Linked DNA regions of Homo sapiens: region 1 is linked to region 2. The links are contacts of gene promoters, found by promoter capture Hi-C in blood cells and fetal thymus (Javierre and others, 2016). All regions are on one chromosome and are shown on one strand. Each heading gives the region's core, a stretch centred on a gene start or on the middle of the fragment in contact. The rest is flanking DNA. Distances are from core to core; before and after follow the strand shown. Region 1 overlaps SNX30 (sorting nexin family member 30). Region 2 holds the start of SUSD1 (sushi domain containing 1).

Region 1 (3,936 bases), core at 42-2,541, 640 kb after region 2:
CACCATGCCCGGCTAATTTTTGCATTTTTTGTAGAGACAGGGTTTTGCCATGTTGCTCAGGCTGGTCTTGAACTCCTGGACTCAAGCTATCTGCCTGCCTCGGCCTCCCAAAGTGCTAAGATTATAGGCATGAGCCACTGCGCCTGGCTGGACTTATAATTTTTAAAAAGACCCCTGATAAAAGAAGAAAAATACTTTTCTTCTTTTGGCCAATAAACATTTGAAAGGATGTTCAACCCCAATAGTAATTAAAGAAACAACTGTAAACAAAGATGATGTATTATTTTTCATTTATCAGTCCACCAAAGATAACTAGTTCCTGAGAATACGTGGTAAGAATATAAATTGCTATATTTCTGAAAGCAGTTTGTCAATTAAAAAGTATATGTACACTTTTGTCCAGCAATTCTATCTTTAGGAATTTATTTTAAGGGAATTACGAGGTGCTCAATGGTGTTTACAAAAGTATTGTTTATTGATGGAAAAATTGGAAACAACTTAAATGGGGATTTGGTTTAATTATCGTGTAACCATTCAGTGGAATACTATGTATGTGTTAAAATGACTGTACATCTGAACTTACTGCTGCAGAAAGATGTCCAAGATGTGCTAAAAGAGATACAGACAATGAGTAAATGAATGAATATGCGTAGAAAAATATGGAAACATATAAACCATGTTAATTGTGTTTTTCTGTATTTAGAGGGATTATGGCTGATCTTTTATTTTCTATTTATTTTTCTTGAAGTTTTAAAATAAGTATATAACCCGAATAAATAGAAGGAAAAAAAAAAAGCCTGTTCCCCAAAAGTGAAATTGGTTGTGGCAAAAATAAAACGTGTGTTCTATTGTGCTGTCTTTTGTAGTTACCAAAAATGATTTCAAATTAGAGTAGAAATATTACATAAACTGTAATTTATGAAATGGATCTGAAAAACATAAGAGAAATGATCAGTTAATAGTGTAACTTTTTTTTTTTTTTTTTGAGACAGGGTCTCTTGCTCTGTTTCCCAGGCTGGAGTGCAGTGGTGCAGTCTTGACTCACTGCAGCCTCCCCCTCTGGGGTTCAAGCAATTCTTATGCCTCAGCTGCCTGAGTAGCTGGGATTACAGGCACCCACCACCACAACTGGCTAATTTTTGTATTTTTAATAGAGACAGGGTTTCACCATGTTGGCCAGGCTGATCTTGAACTACCGACCCCAAATGATCAGCCCACCTCGGCCTCCCAAAGTGCTGGGATTACAGGTGTGAGCCACTGCGCCCAGCCAATAATCGTGTAACATTTAAGAAGGCAAAAAGTAGAGCCTTCCATCAGTTTGGTTTACAATGAAAACCAGTTGCTTTAATTTGTCACCTTTCAAAATATGTCTTTCATTAGCCCTTAATCATTGGCAAGTTCTCACATGGAGCCTATCGGGGGGAGATGGGAGGTCTTGAACTTCCCTTCCAACCTGCTTTTGTTTTTTTGAGACAAGGTCTCACTCTGTCGCCTAGGCTGAAGTGCAGTGGCACAGTCAGCTCACTGCAGTCGTCTCGACCTCCTGGGCTCAGACAATCCTCCTGCCTCAGCCTCTGAGTAGTAGGGACTGCAAGTATGCACTACCACACCTGGCTAATTTAAAACTTTTTTTTGCAGAGATGGGGTCTCGCTATGTTGCCCAGGCTGGTCTCAAACTCTAGGGCTCAAGCTAATCCTTCCTTCTTGGCCTCTTAAAGGGCTGGGATTACAGGCATGAGCCACCACGCCCTGCCCTAACTCTCTTCTTACTGTTGAACCTAGGGCTCAAGGAGGCTTAGTGACATGTTAGGGATCTGGTAGGGATGCAAGAACTGCATAGGCGCAGAGTCCTTCCTACTCCGCCTGTGCGGGTGGTGTGGGGATGGGAGTATCAGGCCACTTGTTCCCAATATTTCTGTCATGCTGTGCTTGAAAATTTGTCAACAATGACTTGCTCTCTGGATTTAAGTGTTGTCTTTTTTCCTCTCTCTCCAGTCCTACAATGCTAGTTCCTTTGGGAAAATCATCTGATAAGTCACAAATACCTACATTGAGTGAATTTCCCCACATCTTCACCCTTGCAAACACAGAGGAAGGTCGTGTTTCATAGGCATATGCTGGTGTGTGGGACTTGAAGAGGGGAAACAATGCAGTTAGTTGGGGGTCAGTCCAAGAATGAGTCCTTGAACTTCACCATTTTGCTAAGACAGTGAACACAGGTTTTGGGGAGGATGAAATCATAATTTTTGATGCTAGAGCTGTTCACAGCTTTTTCTTTGATGAATGACTCTCGTTCATGTGCTTAAAGATTTTCTTGGTGCTGTGAATTAAAACAGACTTTTGGCTTGAAAGAGTAAATTTATGAGATGTAGCTTGACCCATTTTTATCTTGTACTTTAATTTCTGAGAACCATGACAGTCATATAGTGTGTATCCTCATAGGGAAAAATGGCTTATGTGAGACACGGTGTAATTTGTGCCAGTAAATGAGTAAAAATCTTGTTTTGGTAAAAATCAACTCAATTTTATTTAACATTGATTTTCATTATTAAAGTGCTGCAATCACATTTCAGAAAACTTTAAAAATTGAGAAAAAGGGATGAGATTATTAATATTTTTCTGCAATGCAATGGCATTTTTGTATTATTTCTAGATTTTTTCTTATCTGTCTAAAATATAACAGTTCCAGGGTTGTGGTTTGGCAGAATGTGGCAAATTAAGCAAAACCTTTTCTATTTTCATCTAATCTGCCCCCGAAATGAGCAGTGATCTATTATCTTTACTTTTTGTTTATTTCCTCTTTGGCAAAACTTGTCAGCATATTTAGCAGAAGGTGGAGACAATTTCTTTTCACAGATTTGGATTTAGTAGCAATATCCTAAGTGGATTTTTTCTGCTAAAAGAAATTGTTAGAGTTAAGCTTGGAGGAAATGAATCAAATGTTTCTAAACAATTCTGGGGGATAGTTGAATTCTATTTCCTGACGGTAGGGAAAAAAAAAAAAACTGGCTTTTTTTTTTTTTTTTTTTTTTTTTTTTTTGAGACGGAGTCTCGCTCTGTCACCCAGGCTGGAGTGCAGTGGTGCAATCTCGGAAAACTGGCATTTTTATTCCAGCTCGTTGAATTTTTAACTGGGCTAAGTGTCCCAGACTGGTCTATTCTGTGTTGGTAAACTCTGCCATTTGGCTGTTGTGTTTGGTGGAAGGAAAATATGATCTTGCCTAGTTTGGTTATTCTAAGAGCTTTTTTCCTTCCCTTCAGCCAAGATATGCTATTCCCTTATGCTTATTTTTTTCCATTCTCTTCTTTGCAGAGTACTCGGGTGGAGTTTGACCTGCCAGAATATTCTGTTCGTCGAAGATACCAGGATTTTGACTGGTTGAGGAGCAAACTGGAAGAATCCCAGCCCACTCATCTCATTCCCGTAGGTAGTAAGTCACTACAGCTTGTTTCTCACTTGTCCTGTGTTGTCTTTCCTGAAGGGGTTCACTCAACTCTCATCCCTTAAGTTATACAGACTCACCCAGCAAACATATATAAAACATGTTAACGGACACTGTATACAATACTTCACCTATTAGGTTTTAGTTTCTGATTTGGTATATAGAAAGCCAGTTTTGCGGCTGGCTGGGCTTTCTTTAGCCACAGCGGCAGAAATCTAGCACAGAATCCATTGCCACAGTTTTTCATTTAAAAAACAAGAAACCACCTAACACTGTTTATTGAAGCAACGTGACATTTATCTACTCCAGCGCTTCCATCTGCACAGTTTTTAAAAAACAGAACCAGAGCAAAAGAAATTTAAATCTTTTTTTTTTTTTTTTTTTTGAGACAGAGTCGCACTCTCTTGCCCAGGCAGGTGCGCAATGGCATGATCGCAGCTCACTGCAACCTCCGACTCCCAGGTTCAAGTGGATCACCTGCCCCTACCAGGTT
Region 2 (4,094 bases), core at 368-2,867:
GCTTGAGGTGGGCAACGTAGGCAAGAGCTGACACCCTTTGGAATCTTGGGCTTAACCTCCTTGGGGTTTATGAGGGCAAGGCCTCAGCACGTGCACTCATGGCCTTGGCACTGTCGCCCTGCATCTTCTTTAGGCCCCTCTTATTGTGCTTCTTGGCAAACCGCATGTTTGTCAGGAACTTGGGGTCCACCCCTTTAAAAGATTCGTATCTTTGTGATCCGGGTTTCATGATGCCGTTTCTGTGCCATTTTCGGGACTGGTTGTGTGTGGTGTGGTGCTTGGATTTGGCCATGTCTGCACTGTAACCTGTGGCTCCCGAAGCGCCTAGAACTGGCTAGACCCACTTTTCTTGTCACTCCCTGAGACGGCTTCCAGTGGCTTCCAGGCACAGCTAAGTCCAAAGGCCTAGGTCTGCCAATCAAGGCACTCTGCCCTCTGCCTCTGGTGCCTCCGTGTGCTTCCTTCCCTTCTCCCCCGGGCCTGAATTCTGAAGGAATTCATTCATTCTACACTCATTTGTGGAGAGGTGACAGTGCCTTCTGCTATGAGCTGGGATACCTTTTTCACATTTTCCCATATCCAAATATGACCAATCATTGATGGCCCAGCTCAAGGGTCACCACCGATTCCCCTTTCCCTGCCCTCACCACCCACACCTTCTCATGGCACCCATGCCATTCTGCCTTGTATTACAGTTATGTGGATGAATGTCACCTCCCCTGCGTGTCTGAATCCTCTGTGTAATTCCTACTCAGCTCAACACTGCATTTTGCAGAGGAGGAAAAACAACTCCCTCGATTGCTTGGAAATAGAACATTTGCTGGTCTAAATCCTCCAGACAATGAGCTCCACGAGGGCCCGCACTGCCCGCCCTCATCGCGCACAGGGAAGCTGTTCAAGGGCCATCTGTTGAATGAATGAGTGAATTAATGGCTTCACTCCTGTACTCTTCCTTACGCGTCTTTCTCACCATATTTAGCATCCGGCTCTCTAACAACGTGAAAAAATTAAAAGTGGTAAGAAAATTGCTTCGGGTCAAAAATGTGTCATGCAAAAGCCACCGCAGAGCCGGAAGCGTGACAGCGCCGCAGAACGCCCTGGCCTCCCCGCCCTTCCCCGGGCGCCGCCCTGCCCGGGTCCGCGCTCGCGCCCAGCCCCCACCCCGCCTCCTGGGCAGTGGAGGTCCCTGGGGGCCCGGCCAGGCCGCCTTAAAACCGGCGTCCCCCGGCGTCGCGGGGTCGGGCGGGGGCAGGGAAGCCCGGCGGGGAGCCCCCCGCTTCTCTGAGCTCCTCCTTGCCGATCTCCAACGGCCGGCGCGGGCCCCACCTGCGCCCCACGCCTCGGCACCGCGCCGGCCCGGCCCAGGGGCGGGGAAGCGTCCGTGCGCCCAGAGTCCTCGAGGCCCAGCCGGGGGCCCCGCCGGCCGCCCGTGCCCGTCCCAGCCCGCACTCACCGTCGGGGCCCGGCGCTCCCGCGGCGCCGCGGGCCAGGCCGAGCAGCAGCAACAGCGGCAGCAGGCGGCGAGACGGGCCCGCATCCCAGGGCCCCCGGCCCATGCCGCCGCCGGTCCCTCCCGGCGCGCCCGCGCCTCCTCCCGGGGCCCTCAGGGTGCAGAGATAAGGCTACAGGCGCCGCGGGGAGGGGACCAGCCGGCGGCTTCCGGCGCCGCCGAGGGAAGCGGGGGGCGCTGCGGGGTCCCCGGGAGGCCGCAGAGCGCGGGTCCTTCCTCTTGTCGGGGCCTGGGCTTAGGACACGCCCGTTCCGCGTCCGTCTCTGGCTCCGCACTTGCTGCCCTCTCGCCGCTCACATTCGCAAAGGGGGACAGACACTCATCGGATAATGACACAGCTGGACGCAGAGCCCCGGAGAGTGCTGGGGAGGAAATGTTGCGGAGGATTCAAGCCACTCGAGGGCTCAGGGAGGCACCCCCGGGGAGAGGGGTGAGGGGAGCAAGGGGCGGAAATCTTCCAGGACGTGAAAGGGAGCTGGATGAGGTGACCACAGCGCAAGGCCCAGATGAGAGGTCGGAAGACGCAGACCCAGGCCACCCAGGGGCGACACACTTGACCAGGTGACACCTGGTCACCGGGAGTGAGAGAGAGTAGGGCTGTGATGGAGGGAGGGGCTGGCATCAGTCCCCGCTGCTCTGAGGACACCCGGCTTGGGACGCGCTGATGCCAGCCCCTACCTCCATCACAGCCGTACTCATCCCAAGGGAAGGAGTAAACCAAGACCCAAGGATGAGAAGGACGTTGGGGAGGAATCTAAGCGGGAGTTTGTTGTAGAAATGGGGAATGGGGACCTAGAGTGAGAGCAGAGGGTTGGAGAGGGGCGTTGAGCTGCAGAGGGAAGTTAGCCCTCCTAACCCAAGTGATGGAGGTCGCCGGGAAGCTGTCACAGTTTCAAGCAGTGAATGACTTCATCACTGACACATCTCTGTCTGTTCTGTGGAATTGGGATTGGGGTTGGGTTGGGATGTGGAAGGCAAAGAGTCCAGCCCGGAGTTGCTGCAGGAATCAGGCAATAGAAGACATGTCCTGGCCCGGTGCGGTGGCTCACGCCTGTAATCCCAACACTTTGGGAGGTCGAGGCGGGTGGATCACTTGAGGTCAGGAGCTCGATACCAGCCTGGCCAACTTGGTGAAACCCCGTCTCTACTGAAAAAAAAAAAATTAGGTGGGCACGGTGGCAGGCACCTGTAATCCCAGCTACTCGGAAAGCTGAGGCGAGAGAATTGCTTGAACCCAGGAGGCGGAGGTTGAAGTGAGCCGAGCTCGCACCACTGCACTCCGGACTGGGCGACAGAGTGAGACTCCATAGACAGATAGATAGATAGATAGATAGATAGATAGATAGATAGATAGATAGATAGATAGACAGACAGACAGACAGACAGACAGATAGAGATAGAGATAGATGTGTCCTGCAGCTGGGCATTGACAAATGAGTGTGAAGAGGGCAGTGTGTAAGAGTGGAATCCACTAGGTTTTATGACTAGTCGGGGAGAAGGAAATAAATAAGATCCGGTTTGAAGGCTTTGAGCTTGTGATGTCTGTGGGAGCGCAGCCGAGAGCAGGCACCCCACTACTTCACCCCATATCCTCACTTGTTTACTCTCTGCCATGAGCCTGCCGTAAATCTCACCACTTTCAAACACACCCATATAAGGGCTAAAGTTGTGGAGTCTTAACAAGTAGTTAAAAATCAACTTCAAGCTGGGTGAAGTGTGGCATGCCTGTAGTCCCAGCTACTAAAGAGGCTGAAGGGCAGGAGAATTGCTTGAGTCCAGGAATTCAAGGCCCATGTGGGCAATACAGTGAGACCCCCTCTCTTAAAAAAACAAACAAACAAAAACAAACAAAGAAAAAGCTCATCTTCCTAGGCTCTTTTTTCCTCTTGGGGAGACAAGGTCTTGTTCTGTTGCCCAAGCTGGAGTGCACAGCTCACCACAGCCTCAACCTCTTGGGCTCAGGTAGTCCACTAGCCTCAACCTCCCAGTAGCTGGGACTACAGGGGCGCAGCATCATGCCTGGCTCATTTAAAAAATTTTTTTTGTAGAGACAAGATCTGGCTATGTTGCCCAGGCTGGTCTCCAACTCCTTGGCTCAAGCAATCCTCCCACCTTGGTCTCCCAAAGTGCTGGGATTACAGGAGTGAGCCACTGCATCTGGCCTCACAAGCTCTTTTCTTAGCAGGCTTTCTTGAAAATTATTTTTGATCAACAAAGACAGGCACCTGTTTGGGGAGCAATAGATGGACGGTGTGTCTCTATTATTTAGACAAATTTTTTAAGTTCAGCTCTCCATAAACTTCAAACTTGGAAATCATGTCATTGTTTCAACAAATATACCATTCACTTAAGATTTTTAACCAGCCTATACCACTTCATCCCCACTGTGGCCCCTTGCAAAATAAATAAACTTAAGTATATATGTATATACATTTTTTATTGATAATGTCAGGAAAATTTGTCCAAAACTTGGAAATGGGCAAAAGAGATTACTGGGTATCCTTTCAGTGGGGTGCTGGGTGCACCGTCGCTGGACTTCCTATTGACTAGGCTATTTTGCAGCACTAGAGGGCTAGAAGTTAAC

Evidence for each region. The method cuts DNA at HindIII sites, captures the fragments that hold promoters and counts their contacts. A CHiCAGO score of 5 or more calls a contact.
Region 1: a fragment that was not itself captured here is called in contact with the fragment with the promoter of SUSD1 in region 2 in 1 of 17 cell types (total B cells); the score reaches 5.1 in total B cells.

What each region holds. Positions count from the first base shown.
Region 1 is chr9:112,814,392-112,818,327 of GRCh38, forward strand. It overlaps SNX30 (sorting nexin family member 30), which reads left to right. Exons shown (of 9, transcript NM_001012994.2): 3 at 3,314-3,424. Among named protein-coding and RNA genes, the nearest start is that of SNX30, 66 kb to the left of the region's middle. RefSeq lists a silencer at 3,557-3,606. The HindIII fragment of the contact is 3,254 bases long and covers 1-2,918 here.
Region 2 is chr9:112,173,680-112,177,773 of GRCh38, forward strand. It overlaps SUSD1 (sushi domain containing 1), which reads right to left and starts at 1,618. Exons shown (of 17, transcript NM_022486.5): 1 at 1,454-1,618. The coding sequence starts at 1,556. It also overlaps the pseudogene RPL29P20. RefSeq lists a silencer at 1,077-1,736. The HindIII fragment of the contact is 4,774 bases long and covers 1-4,094 here.